Linked DNA regions of Homo sapiens: all the other regions are linked to region 1. Evidence: promoter capture Hi-C in 16 types of primary human blood cells and fetal thymus (Javierre and others, 2016). All regions are on one chromosome and are shown on one strand. The core of a region is centred on a gene start or on the middle of the fragment in contact, and the rest is flanking DNA. Distances in the headings are between cores, read along the strand shown. Region 1 holds the start of NUMA1-AS1 (NUMA1 antisense RNA 1). Region 2 has its middle 16 kb from the start of PHOX2A. Region 3 holds the start of FOLR2 (folate receptor beta). Region 4 overlaps FOLR1 (folate receptor alpha).

The links. The method cuts DNA at HindIII sites, captures the fragments that hold promoters and counts their contacts. A CHiCAGO score of 5 or more calls a contact.
Region 2: a contact is called between a fragment that was not itself captured here and the fragment with the promoter of NUMA1-AS1 in region 1, in 1 of 17 cell types (erythroblasts). The highest score is 5.6, in erythroblasts.
Region 3: the fragment with the promoter of FOLR2 here is called in contact with the fragment with the promoter of NUMA1-AS1 in region 1 in 2 of 17 cell types (erythroblasts and neutrophils); the score reaches 6.3 in erythroblasts.
Region 4: a contact is called between a fragment that was not itself captured here and the fragment with the promoter of NUMA1-AS1 in region 1, in 2 of 17 cell types (erythroblasts and M1 macrophages). The highest score is 6.1, in erythroblasts.

What each region holds. Positions count from the first base shown.
Region 1 is chr11:72,012,829-72,016,356 of GRCh38, reverse strand. NUMA1-AS1 (NUMA1 antisense RNA 1) reads right to left here and starts at 2,066. Exons shown (of 4, transcript NR_104178.2): 1 at 1-2,066. NUMA1 (nuclear mitotic apparatus protein 1) reads left to right here. Exons shown (of 27, transcript NM_006185.4): 15 at 97-3,462. RefSeq lists an enhancer at 665-1,412. The HindIII fragment of the contact is 6,447 bases long and covers 2,061-3,528 here.
Region 2 is chr11:72,258,433-72,261,960 of GRCh38, reverse strand. No RefSeq gene overlaps it. Among named protein-coding and RNA genes, the nearest start is that of PHOX2A, 16 kb to the right of the region's middle. The HindIII fragment of the contact is 1,643 bases long and covers 815-2,457 here.
Region 3 is chr11:72,214,713-72,218,240 of GRCh38, reverse strand. It overlaps FOLR2 (folate receptor beta), which reads right to left and starts at 1,447. Exons shown (of 5, transcript NM_000803.5): 1 at 1,316-1,447. The HindIII fragment of the contact is 32,333 bases long and covers 1-3,528 here.
Region 4 is chr11:72,193,933-72,197,460 of GRCh38, reverse strand. FOLR1 (folate receptor alpha) reads right to left here. Exons shown (of 4, transcript NM_016729.3): 2 at 2,002-2,190; 3 at 1,714-1,849; 4 at 1,162-1,564. The coding sequence ends at 1,284. The region is part of intron 2 of FOLR1-AS1 (FOLR1 antisense RNA 1); the gene reads left to right. Among named protein-coding and RNA genes, the nearest start is that of FOLR1, 3.6 kb to the right of the region's middle. The HindIII fragment of the contact is 3,293 bases long and covers 35-3,327 here.

The DNA of each region.
Region 1 (3,528 bases), core at 817-3,316:
TCAGTACATTTGGGTTCCTGGTGTTCCTCCATTTCCAGAGGAGTCTTGATGACTGAGGAGTCATGCTGATCCCAGTTTGTCTCTTTATACCACCAGCTGGAAACCTTGAAGCAAGAGGCAGCCACTCTTGCTGCAAACAACACACAGCTCCAAGCCAGGGTAGAGATGCTGGAGACTGAGCGAGGCCAGCAGGAAGCCAAGCTGCTTGCTGAGCGGGGCCACTTCGAAGAAGAAAAGCAGCAGCTGTCTAGCCTGATCACTGACCTGCAGAGCTCCATCTCCAACCTCAGCCAGGCCAAGGAAGAGCTGGAGCAGGCCTCCCAGGCTCATGGGGCCCGGTTGACTGCCCAGGTGGCCTCTCTGACCTCTGAGCTCACCACACTCAATGCCACCATCCAGCAACAGGATCAAGAACTGGCTGGCCTGAAGCAGCAGGCCAAAGAGAAGCAGGCCCAGCTAGCACAGACCCTCCAACAGCAAGAACAGGCCTCCCAGGGCCTCCGCCACCAGGTGGAGCAGCTAAGCAGTAGCCTGAAGCAGAAGGAGCAGCAGTTGAAGGAGGTAGCGGAGAAGCAGGAGGCAACTAGGCAGGACCATGCCCAGCAACTGGCCACTGCTGCAGAGGAGCGAGAGGCCTCCTTAAGGGAGCGGGATGCGGCTCTCAAGCAGCTGGAGGCACTGGAGAAGGAGAAGGCTGCCAAGCTGGAGATTCTGCAGCAGCAACTTCAGGTGGCTAATGAAGCCCGGGACAGTGCCCAGACCTCAGTGACACAGGCCCAGCGGGAGAAGGCAGAGCTGAGCCGGAAGGTGGAGGAACTCCAGGCCTGTGTTGAGACAGCCCGCCAGGAACAGCATGAGGCCCAGGCCCAGGTTGCAGAGCTAGAGTTGCAGCTGCGGTCTGAGCAGCAAAAAGCAACTGAGAAAGAAAGGGTGGCCCAGGAGAAGGACCAGCTCCAGGAGCAGCTCCAGGCCCTCAAAGAGTCCTTGAAGGTCACCAAGGGCAGCCTTGAAGAGGAGAAGCGCAGGGCTGCAGATGCCCTGGAAGAGCAGCAGCGTTGTATCTCTGAGCTGAAGGCAGAGACCCGAAGCCTGGTGGAGCAGCATAAGCGGGAACGAAAGGAGCTGGAAGAAGAGAGGGCTGGGCGCAAGGGGCTGGAGGCTCGATTACAGCAGCTTGGGGAGGCCCATCAGGCTGAGACTGAAGTCCTGCGGCGGGAGCTGGCAGAGGCCATGGCTGCCCAGCACACAGCTGAGAGTGAGTGTGAGCAGCTCGTCAAAGAAGTAGCTGCCTGGCGTGAGCGGTATGAGGATAGCCAGCAAGAGGAGGCACAGTATGGCGCCATGTTCCAGGAACAGCTGATGACTTTGAAGGAGGAATGTGAGAAGGCCCGCCAGGAGCTGCAGGAGGCAAAGGAGAAGGTGGCAGGCATAGAATCCCACAGCGAGCTCCAGATAAGCCGGCAGCAGAACGAACTAGCTGAGCTCCATGCCAACCTGGCCAGAGCACTCCAGCAGGTCCAAGAGAAGGAAGTCAGGGCCCAGAAGCTTGCAGATGACCTCTCCACTCTGCAGGAAAAGATGGCTGCCACCAGCAAAGAGGTGGCCCGCTTGGAGACCTTGGTGCGCAAGGCAGGTGAGCAGCAGGAAACAGCCTCCCGGGAGTTAGTCAAGGAGCCTGCGAGGGCAGGAGACAGACAGCCCGAGTGGCTGGAAGAGCAACAGGGACGCCAGTTCTGCAGCACACAGGCAGCGCTGCAGGCTATGGAGCGGGAGGCAGAGCAGATGGGCAATGAGCTGGAACGGCTGCGGGCCGCGCTGATGGAGAGCCAGGGGCAGCAGCAGGAGGAGCGTGGGCAGCAGGAAAGGGAGGTGGCGCGGCTGACCCAGGAGCGGGGCCGTGCCCAGGCTGACCTTGCCCTGGAGAAGGCGGCCAGAGCAGAGCTTGAGATGCGGCTGCAGAACGCCCTCAACGAGCAGCGTGTGGAGTTCGCTACCCTGCAAGAGGCACTGGCTCATGCCCTGACGGAAAAGGAAGGCAAGGACCAGGAGTTGGCCAAGCTTCGTGGTCTGGAGGCAGCCCAGATAAAAGAGCTGGAGGAACTTCGGCAAACCGTGAAGCAACTGAAGGAACAGCTGGCTAAGAAAGAAAAGGAGCACGCATCTGGCTCAGGAGCCCAATCTGAGGCTGCTGGCAGGACAGAGCCAACAGGCCCCAAGCTGGAGGCACTGCGGGCAGAGGTGAGCAAGCTGGAACAGCAATGCCAGAAGCAGCAGGAGCAGGCTGACAGCCTGGAACGCAGCCTCGAGGCTGAGCGGGCCTCCCGGGCTGAGCGGGACAGTGCTCTGGAGACTCTGCAGGGCCAGTTAGAGGAGAAGGCCCAGGAGCTAGGGCACAGTCAGAGTGCCTTAGCCTCGGCCCAACGGGAGTTGGCTGCCTTCCGCACCAAGGTACAAGACCACAGCAAGGCTGAAGATGAGTGGAAGGCCCAGGTGGCCCGGGGCCGGCAAGAGGCTGAGAGGAAAAATAGCCTCATCAGCAGCTTGGAGGAGGAGGTGTCCATCCTGAATCGCCAGGTCCTGGAGAAGGAGGGGGAGAGCAAGGAGTTGAAGCGGCTGGTGATGGCCGAGTCAGAGAAGAGCCAGAAGCTGGAGGAGAGGCTGCGCCTGCTGCAGGCAGAGACAGCCAGCAACAGTGCCAGAGCTGCAGAACGCAGCTCTGCTCTGCGGGAGGAGGTGCAGAGCCTCCGGGAGGAGGCTGAGAAACAGCGGGTGGCTTCAGAGAACCTGCGGCAGGAGCTGACCTCACAGGCTGAGCGTGCGGAGGAGCTGGGCCAAGAATTGAAGGCGTGGCAGGAGAAGTTCTTCCAGAAAGAGCAGGCCCTCTCCACCCTGCAGCTCGAGCACACCAGCACACAGGCCCTGGTGAGTGAGCTGCTGCCAGCTAAGCACCTCTGCCAGCAGCTGCAGGCCGAGCAGGCCGCTGCCGAGAAACGCCACCGTGAGGAGCTGGAGCAGAGCAAGCAGGCCGCTGGGGGACTGCGGGCAGAGCTGCTGCGGGCCCAGCGGGAGCTTGGGGAGCTGATTCCTCTGCGGCAGAAGGTGGCAGAGCAGGAGCGAACAGCTCAGCAGCTGCGGGCAGAGAAGGCCAGCTATGCAGAGCAGCTGAGCATGCTGAAGAAGGCGCATGGCCTGCTGGCAGAGGAGAACCGGGGGCTGGGTGAGCGGGCCAACCTTGGCCGGCAGTTTCTGGAAGTGGAGTTGGACCAGGCCCGGGAGAAGTATGTCCAAGAGTTGGCAGCCGTACGTGCTGATGCTGAGACCCGTCTGGCTGAGGTGCAGCGAGAAGCACAGAGCACTGCCCGGGAGCTGGAGGTGATGACTGCCAAGTATGAGGGTGCCAAGGTCAAGGTCCTGGAGGAGAGGCAGCGGTTCCAGGAAGAGAGGCAGAAACTCACTGCCCAGGTAAGGTACTCAGCCCAACCACCCTCCCAAAGATCAGGAGCTGAGAGCGCGGGGACATCGATCCTC
Region 2 (3,528 bases), core at 387-2,886, 250 kb before region 1:
GAGCCCAGGAGTTTAATACCAGCCTGGGCAACATAGTGAGACCCCCATCTCTATTTTATTAAAAATTTAAAAAAATTTTTTTTTAATTTTTTTAAATAACAATTTAAAAATTTTTTAAAATAACAATTAAAAAAATTTTTTTAATAACAATTTTAAAAAATGGGACACTGGGCGTGGTAGCTCACACCTGTAATCCCAGCACTTTGGGAGGCCGAGGCGGGCGGATCACCTGAGGTTGGGAGTTCGAGACCAGCCTGACCAACATGGAGAAACCCCGTCTCTACTAAAAATACAAAATTAGCTGGGCGTAGTGGTTCATGCCTGTAATCCCAGCACTTTGGGAGGCCGAGGCAGGAGGATCACGAAGTCAGGAAATCAAGACCACCCTGGCCAATATGATGAAACCCCATCTCTACTCAAAATACAAAAATTAGCTGGGTGTGGCGGTGTGCAACTGTAGTCCCAGCTACTCAGATGGCTGAGGCAGAATTGCTTGAACCTGGTAGGCAAAGGTTGCAGTGAGCTGAGATCACGCCACTGCACCCCAGCCTGGAGACAAAGCAAGACTCCGTCTCAAAAAAAAAAAAAAAAAATTGAATGCAAAACTATAAAACTCCTAGAAGATAACATAAGACAAAATCTAGATGACCTTGGGTTTGGTGACGATTTTCTATGTACTTATTTATTTATTTTACTATTCTTAAAGTTTACTTACTACTATATAAATGAAGACGGTGATTTTTTTTAATACAACACCAAAAGCAGAATTCATGAAAGAAGAAACATATGTTAGACTTTACTAAAATTAAAAGCTTCTATTCTGCAAAAGATGCTTTTGAGAGAATGAAGACAAACCACGAACTGGGATAAAATCTTTGTAAAACACATATAAAGGACTGGTGTCCAAAATATACAAGAACTTTTCAAACTTGACAATAAAGAAACAATCACCCGATTTAAAAATTAGCAAAAGATAGGAACAGACACCTCACCAAAGGATATGTGCAGACAGCAAATAAATACATGAAAGATGCTCAACATTATGTCATCAGGGAATTGCAAATTAAAACAATAAATGAGATATCACTATGTACCTACTAGAATGGCTTAAATCCAAAACGCTGACGACAACAACTCATTAAGGCATTCAGGGTACCGAGTACTTTCTGCTATTTAGGATTTATCAGCACTTTATCATAATCATAGTTCGCCAGTGTAACGTGTTATGGGACTTTAAGATTATCAAAGTCCCTGTGTACTAAATTGTGGCACAGAGGCAGAGAGCTGACATAGTTCTTGAAGCAAAATAGTGAAAATGTACTTCTGCCCCTGCCAGGATAAACAAAATTACCTCTGGTCTTCTTTGCTTATTGAAATAGGGAAAAAACATTTGCAAGTTAATAACTTCATCGCAGGTGGGAGAGGCGCTGTTGATTTGCTCTAGTGGAGAAACCACATCTGCAAGAGCAATGCAACTGGAGTCATCACCTGTCTTAAACTTTCAATCATCCACCGTCATTCTCAAAGGCCCTTCTGACTTCTTTGTGAGCCAAACAGGTAAATTAAATGGATAAGTAACAAGAATTTTCACCTCTAAATTTTCAGATCTTTGATGGTTGCACTAATCTCGCATTTCCCCCAGCAAGGCATTATTGCTCTTTGTTTATAATTTAAATAGGGAGGAAGGTTTAGTGCTTTTGCTCGACCCTTTCAACCACATATTCCATGGACTGGAGAAACATGGGGATTCTGCCATTTGCTGAATGCATCTAGTCTAACTATACACTCGGGAACTAAAGAAATGATGGGAAAATGGGTTTAAGAACTGGGATGATAGTAAGGTAGACTGAAATCAAAAGTTGCAGCCAGGCACAGTGGCTCACACCTGCAATCCTAGCACTTTGGGAGGCCAAGGCAGGAGGATCACTTGAGCCCAGAGTTCGAGACCAGCCTAGGCAACATGGTGAGATCCCTGTCTTTACAAAAATTTAAAAAGAAAAAAAAAAGGTAGCTAGCCATGGTGGCACACGCCTGTAGTTCCAGCTAATCAGGAGGCTGAGACAAGGGGATGGCTTCAGTACAGGAGTTCGAGGCTGTAGTGGGTTATGATCATGCCACTGCACTCCACCCTGGGCAACATAGCAAGACCCTGTCTCAGAAAAAAAATCAAAAGTCAATTTATCACTTGACTCCATAAGCCTTCATTCACTCTGAGTGATTCATTAATCACTGTGCCAACTACAACTCCAAAGATTAGCATTAGAGCCAATGTCCAACACTCCCAAGGTCACAGTTACTGGATCTGTTTCCTAGGGCTGCCATAACAAAATATTATACACAAGGTAGCCTGAAACCACGGAAATTTATTCTCCATCTTCACATGGTGTTCCCTCTGTGTCCAAATTTCTCCTTTTTTATAAGGTTAGAAAAAGAAAGAAAAGAAAAGAAAAAAAAGCTTCTTCTAAGGAGACCATCATTGGATTAGGGCTAAACCAGTATGACCTCACCTTAACCTGATTGCAAATAAACTATTTCAAAATAAGGTCACCTATTTCACAGGTACTGGGGACCAGAACTTCAACATATCTTTTGGAGGAGACACAATTAAACCTACAATAGCTATCCTGGAAAATGACCACAGGCCTTTCTGGGGGACCCTATAAGGAATACAAAGGGAGGCAGGGCACTGTGGCTCATACCTGCAATCCCAGCACTTTGGGAGGCCGAGGTGGGCAGATCACTTGAGGTCAGGATTTCTAGACCAGCCTGGCCAACATGATGAAGCCCTGTCTCTACTAAAAACACAAAAATTAGCCGGGCATGGTGGTGGGCACTTGTAATCCCAGCTACTCAGGAGGCCGAGGCAAGACAATTGCTTGAACCCGGGAGGTGGAGGTTGCAGTGAGCCAGAATCATGCCACTGCACTCCAGCCTGGGTGACAGAGTGAGACTCTGTAAAAAAAAAAAAAAAAAAAAAAAAAGAAAGAAAGAAAGAAAGAAAGAAAGAAAGAAAGAAAGAAAGAAAGAAATATATAAGGAGGTATTTCTAAATCTTGCTTAAGTAAACTTGCCTTCACCCCATTCATGGGGCTGTAAGTCTGTGAACAAACCCAGGACAGGAAATTCAGTGAGAGATCATAACTCCATTATTCCCCATCCTATTGTCTTAAGTGGGTCCCCTTTTCACCAGTTCCAGAGGGTTTTGGGTTTTACAGATCAGTTAGAATCTTAGTGAACTGCTTACATTCTTTAATCCTAGGGACTCAGTGATCTCAAAATGATCAACCAGCAAAGATCTCTGCAGGTCAGACCACTCAGAGCAGCTGGCAATCAGAGTAACCACACCCAGCTTGCCCCTGGCAGTGAAGTACCCCACCCCACCCTCACAACCCTAGGATTCCATCATGTTGGTGGAAATGAGGGCACCTACATGGTGAGTGGTGGCTCATGCCTGCAATCTCAGCACATTGGGAGGCCAAGGTGGGAAGGTGGCTTAAACCCAGAAGCTCAAGGCAAGCCTGGGCAACA
Region 3 (3,528 bases), core at 198-2,697, 200 kb before region 1:
ATCCTCTGCTTCCCTGAACAGAGCCAGGGACACATAATGTCTTCACCCTCTGTCCAGCAAGGGCTCTGTGGTTAGATGATAGATCACCTGGGGTCTTGTGCCAGCTTAGAAACCAGGTTAGCCTTGGGGAAGGCAGTGACCCAGCTCTGCCGAGTTCTCAGATCAGCATGAGGATCAAGTGACAGAACCCACAGGATGGTGTTTGGTTAAATGATACGGAAATGGAAAGAGCAGTGTTTTTTAAGTAGTTTTGCTTCCTCAGACTTTTTCCTTCCCTATTCTCTGAAAGCCATTTTCCTTTCCAGCCTCCTCAGCTGTCTCTGGGCTAATGCAGCAGACCTCACCCTACCTCTCAAAAAACAAATGCAGATGAGAATGATATAGACTGGGGGTGGGGCAAGGTGAGGAGGGGGTGAGGAATAAAAGACTATATACTGAGTACAGTGTACACTGCTCCGGTGACTGGTGCACTAAAATTCAGAAATCACCACTAAAGAACTTATCTATGCAACCAAAACCACCTGAAAAACGATAGAAGTTTAAAAAATTCAAAATAATTTTTTTAAAAATGCAGAGAGACCCTTAGATCTGAGAGACAACATGAAAGTTTCCCATGTTGGAGCAGCCAGACCAGCACTTAGTGTCCTGGAAGGCACTCAACAACAGGAGCAGCCCTCGCCTCCTCTGTTCATTGCTGCCCTTGCCCCCACCCCCAGCCATTACAGAGCTGTTCCTTTGGGCTCTGTCACTAAAGAGTGGATAATGGATACTGCTTCCTCTCCCTCTCTGGTAAAGGTCCCTCCAAAAACTTACTGACCATGGCTCTATGTTTAGTGTCAAGTCTTCCCTCTTCCAATTTCTTCCCCTTCAAGTTGCCTTCCCCACAGGAGCCAGCATGATCTTTCTAAAGAAAGATGTGGCCGGGCACAGTGGCTCACGCCTGTAATCCCAGCACTTTGGGAGGCCGAGGTGGGTGGATCCTGAGGTCAAGAGTTCGAGACCAGCCTGACCAACATGATGAAACCCCGTCTCTACTAAAAATACAAAAATTAGCCAGGCGAGGTGGTGGGCACCTGTAATCCCAGCTACTCAGGAGGCTGAGGCAGGAGAATCACTTGAACCCAGGAGGCAGAGGTTGCAGTGAGCCAAGATCGTGCCACTGCACTCCAGCCTGGGTGACAGAGCGAGACTCTGTCTCAAAAAATACAATACAATACAATACAATACAGAAAGAAAGGTGTGTTCCTCCCCTCTGCACAAACTCTCCAAGTCTCCCCACTGCCCTTGTCACCCTTCCCTCCTTCGGGCATCTTGCCTGAACCTCCGTTGCTGCTGGGAGCATACACGGCTGTGTCTGAGTTGGCCTCTCTCTAAGTAGGCAATAGATCCAGGCCCCTAGGCTGTCCCCACAGCCTCTGTCTTCGGTACAGGGTAGACAACGCGCTCTGGTAAGCACTGAGTGAAATCTCCCTACTTAGCTATTCTCCTTCCTCTCTTCCTTCCCTTCCAGACCCCACCCTCTTCAAGGCTCCCTGAGTCTGTCCATTTAGTCATTCCTGCTTGCATTCATCTCCTTACTTGTTAATTTACTCATTCCAGCATCCACACATTCAACTTTCATCAAAATCTAGAGAATTGCTCATCACCAGGGGGCATCTGGATTTTATAGATACCCCAAGTGGTTCTTAGGATAAGGCCAGCTCGATGGAGATTAGGTCTGGTGGAAAAGAACCCAGGCTTTAGGGTCAGGCCAATGGGACCCAATGAGAGCTCCATCTCTTGCACAACCTTGGGAAAAGTCACTGGACCTTACTGAGCTTCAGTTTGCTCACTAGAAAATTGTTCACAATTGTATAGGGAAAAGCCTGGCACATACTGAGTAGGCTTAAGTGACAGCTATTGGGTTAATTTATGGGCAGCCAGGTGGACATAGGTAGAAGTTGAGGTATAGGCTGGGCATGGTGGCTCACGTCAGTAATCCCAGCACTTTGGGAGGCTGAGGCAGACAGATCACTGAGGTCAGAAGTTCGAGACTACCCTGGACAACATGGTAAAACCCTGTCTCTACTAAAAATACAAAAATTAGTGGGGTGTGGTGCCGTGCGTGCACTGTAATCCCAGCTACTTGGGAGGCTGAGGCACAAGAATTGTTTGAACCCGAGAGGCAGAGGTTGCAGTGAGCTGAGATCGCACCACTACACTCCAGCCTGGGCGACAGAGCGAGACTTCATCTCAAAAAAAAAAAAAAAAAAAAAAAAAAGTTGAGGTATAGAAGTCAAGGGTCACAGAAAAATTAAAATTGTCTCAAATATGTTAAACAGCAATATATTACCATCTGGCATTTCTGAAAACATAATTAAGCAATTTTTGATGGCCTTTTAAAAATTGTGGTAAAAACACACGTGACATACAATGTGCCATCTTAACCATTTCTAACGGTACAGTTCAGCAGTGTCAAATATAGTCATACTGTTTGCAATCAATCTTGGAAACTTTTCATCCTGCAAAACTGAGACTCCATATCCATTAAACGATTCCCCACTTTCACTTTCCCTAGCCCCCGCCAACCACCATTCTATTTTCCGTCTCTGTGATTTGGGCTACTGTACTGTAAGTTCCTTGTCCAAGTGGAATCATGCAATATTTGTCTTTTCGTGACTGGCTTTTCGTAATGTCCCCAAGATTTGTCCATGTTGTAAGGTGTATCCGAATTTCATTCCTTTTTAAGGCTGGGTAATATTTCATTGTATGTATGTACCACATTTTCTTTATTTATTCATCTATCAATGGACCTTTGGGTTGCTTCCACTTTTGGCTATCATGAAGAATACTGCTATGAAAATGGGCATATAAATATGTCTTTAAGACCTTTCTTTCAATTCTTTTTGGTATATATCCAGAAGTGAAATTGCAGGATTATATGGTAAGTCTATATTTAATTTTTGAAGAACTGCCACACTGTTTTCTGTAGTGGCCACACCATTTTACATTTCCATCAGCAGTGCACAAAGGTTCCAATTTCTCCACATCCTCATCAACACTTATTTCCTGTTTTGGGAGTTTTGGGTTTATAGTAGCCATCATGTTGAGTGTGAGGCGATATCTCATTGTGACTTTGATGTACATTTCTCTAATAATTAGTGATAATGAGCATCTTTTTCCATGCTTATTAGCCATTTGTATATCTTCTTTGGAGAAATGTCTATTCAAGTCATTTGCCTATTTTTAAAATTGAGTTTTCTTTTTGTTGAGTTGTAGTATTCTTTTATGTATTCTGAATTCACCCTTTATCAGGTATATGATTTGCAAATATTTTCTCCCATTCTGTATGTTGCCTGTTGATTGTCCTTTGATGGACAGAAGTTTTTAATTTTGATGTAGTCCAGTTACCTATTTTTACTTTTGTTTCCTGTGCTATTGGTCTCATATTCAATAACTCATTGCCTAATTCAATGTCATGAAACTCTTTGCCTAGGTTTTCTTCAAAGACTTTCATCATTTTTGCTTTTATGTTTATTTAGGTCATGG
Region 4 (3,528 bases), core at 432-2,931, 180 kb before region 1:
CTGAGCACAGCACAGGAATCAACCCTGGGAAGCTTATGTTCAGTTTAAATGATAAAATCCTGAGCTAGGCTGGGCATGGTGTCTCACACTTGTAATCCCAGCACTTTGGGAGGCTGAGGTGGGTGGTTCACCTGAGGTTAGGAGTTCCAGACCAGCTTGGCCAACATGGCGAAACCCCATCTCTAATAAAAATACAAAAATTAGCCAGGCATGGTGGCCCACACCTATAGTCCCAGGTACTCGGGAGGCTGAGGCAGAATTGCTTGAATGTGGGAGGCAGAGGTTGCAGTGAGCTGAGACTGCGCTGGGTGTGGTGGCTCACGGTTGTAATCCCAGTACTTTTGAAGTCTGAGATGAAAGGTTTGCTTCAGGCCAGGAGTTTGAGATCAGCCTGGACGACATACCAAGATCTCCTCTTTATAAAAAAATGTAACAATTAGCCAGGTGGGGCTGGGCGCAGTGGCTCACGCCTGTAATCCCAGCACTTTGGGAGGCCAAGGCAGGCGGATCACTTGAGGTCGGGAGTTCAAGACCAGCCTGACCAACATGGAGAAACCCTGTCTCTACTAAAAATACAAAATCAGCCGGGCATGGTGGTGCATGCCTATAATCCCAGCTACTCTGGAGGCTGAGGCAAGAGAATCACTTGAACTTGGGAGGAGGAGGTTGCAGTGGGCCAAGATCATGCCATTGCACTCCAGCCTGGGCAACAAGAGCGAAACTCCATCTCAAAAAAAAAAAAAAAATTAGCCAGGTGTGGTGGCACATGGTTGCAGTCTCAAGTTGAGAGGCTGAGGTGGGAGGATCACTTGAGCCCAGGAGGCAGATGTTACAGTGAATCAAGGTCATGCCACTGCACTCCAGCCTGGTGACAGAGTGAGATCCTGTCTCAAAACAAACAAAATATTCCTGGGTGAGACCCTGTCTCAAAACAAACAAATGAAAAATTCCTGGGCTTGGCTCTAGATTGGAGCAATAGTAAAAAATGAAATTGAGAGCTACGAATGTCTCCTAAGTTAGAAAAATAGTTAAGTATCAGGCTAGTTTATAGCAACTGTCAGAGCTAGGAATTGGCCCAGTCTCACTGGTTTCAATCAATGGGAATTGGAAAACAAAACAGTCACGTTCCCATTCATATCCAAATAATTCTCAAGACACATGTGCGGTGTCTGGTTTATTCAAAGTGGCTGTCAGAGGCCCGACCATGGAGCAGGAACCAAATAGTTGGGAGCTGTGGGGCTGAACAGGGCAGGGATTTCCAGGTATCAGAAGGTAAAAGGAGGTCAGCTGAGCAGCCACAGCAGCATTAGGGCCAGGCTAAGCAGGAAAGGCCAGGCTGCCCAGGGCCCAGCCCCACTCATGGCTGCAGCATAGAACCTCGCCACCTCCTCATTGGGGTTGCCCTGGGCTGGGTCGAACCACATCTGGATGCAGCGGCCACTCCCTCGGCTGTAGTTGCTGACCTTGTAGGAGTGAGTCCAGATTTCATTGCACAGAACAGTGGGTGTGGGGAAGTAGAAATGGAAAGGTTGGCAGGCAGCTCCCACTGCGCACTTGTTAAACCCTGTAGAGAGGAGGGAAGACCTTTAGCCACTGGGCCCGGAACTATCTTGAGGTCTGCCAGCCCTACAACTCCAAATTGTCACATACCTGTTCCACACCCACACACCTCCACTTCCAAATCCCTCCATTCCTGCCCACCCCAGCCCTCACCTGAAGTCCAGTTCCAGCCCTTGTGCCAGTTGCTCTTGCAGGTGTAGGAGGTGCGACAATCTTCCCACCATTGCTCACAGTCCTCTTTGCACAGGGGCACGTTCAGTACCCGCTCTTTGCGCCAGCTCTGATCCACCTGGGTGATTTTGATACAAAAGAAGGGCTCAGGTTCAAGAATCCCAGCAACTCAGCCCCGAATAGAACTGGAGCTGGGGTTGCAGCCTGCAGAGATGCCTGGAAAGCTCAGCTGCTCCGCTAGGTCTTGTACCTGCAGGAAGCCATGCATACCTGCTGGATCCAGGGCCCCAAGTTGGGGGAGCACTCGTAGAGGCAGGTGTCCTGGATGAAATGCCGTTTGCAGGCAGGTGCCATCTCTCCACAGTGGTTCCAGTTGAATCTATATAGGTAGGAAACATCCTTATGGGCTTCCTGGCTGGTGTTGGTAGAACAGCAGGCATTCTTCCTCCAGGGTCGACACTGGATGGGGGAAGACAGAGGACTCAGTCCACAGCCAGCACAGCCAGCACAGCCAGAATATTCCACATGCAGTGTCTCCCCTCTTAGTCCTTGATTCCCCAGCCCACTGGAAGTCACCCAGGAAAATACTTGCTATTGGGACCTCTTTAGGGGAGAGGGCCGTCAGAGACAGTGGGAGCCCAAAAGGGAGCTCCTGCTGGAGTTGCAGTCATTACAAAATTTGTTAATTCAACCTTTATTGAGATCCTACTTACTCTCACCCAGGTACTTTTGTAGAAACTGGGGTTACAACAATGAACACATCACCTGATTTTTGCTTTGGACAAAAATTAAGCAGAGACGGATGGGGACTTGTAGTGTAATAGTGCGGTCAGATTAAGCCTCACTGAGGTGTCAAAGATTTGAAGGTAAAAAAGCAATTTAAATTGTAACCCCAGGCTGGGTGCAGTGGCTTACTTGTGTAATCCCAGCACTTTGGGAGGCCAAGGCAGGTGGATCACCTGAGATCAAGAGTTTGAGACCAGCCTGGCCAACATGGTGAAACCCCGTCTCTACTAAAAATATAAAAATTAGGCCGGGTGCGGTGGCTCACGCCTGTAATCCCAGCATTTTGGGAGGCCGAGGCGGGTGGATCACGAGGCTAAGAGATCAAGACCATCCTGGCCAACATGGTGAAACCCCGTCTCTACTAAAAATACAAAAAATTAGCCGGGCGTGGTGGCTGGCACCTGTAGTCCCAGCTACTTGGGAGGCTGAGGCAGGAGAATGGTGTGAACCCGGCAGGTGGAGCTTGCAGTGAGCCGAGATCATGCCACTGCACTCCAGCCTGGGCGACAGAGCAAGACTCCATCTCAAAAAATAAACAAACAAAAAACTAGCCAAGTGTGGTGGCGGACACCTGTAATCCCAGCTACTTGGGAAGTGTTTTGTCCCTGACTAGCTGCCTCACCCATTATCTGTTTGTGGAATTTGTGATACAAAAAAACAATGTATAGCCAATCAATTGTGGATGTTATTTTATTATAAGTTATTGAGAAACAACTTAGGAACTAATCTTTTTCCTTAAAAACTAACTTGTGATGGCTGCAAAATTCAGGACAACTTGAAACTATGCTCCTGTGTGCCTATCCTCAAGCTTCCTGAATCTCATTACTTAAGGCTGACAAGCTAAATATTAAAATGTGGGCCGGCACAGTGGCTCACATAGTGCCTGTAATCCCAGCACTTTGGGAGGTGGAGGTGGACAGATCACTTAAGGTCAAGAATGGAGACCAGCCTGGCCAACATGGCAAAACCCCATTTCTACTAAAAATACAAAAATTAGCTAGGCATGGTGGC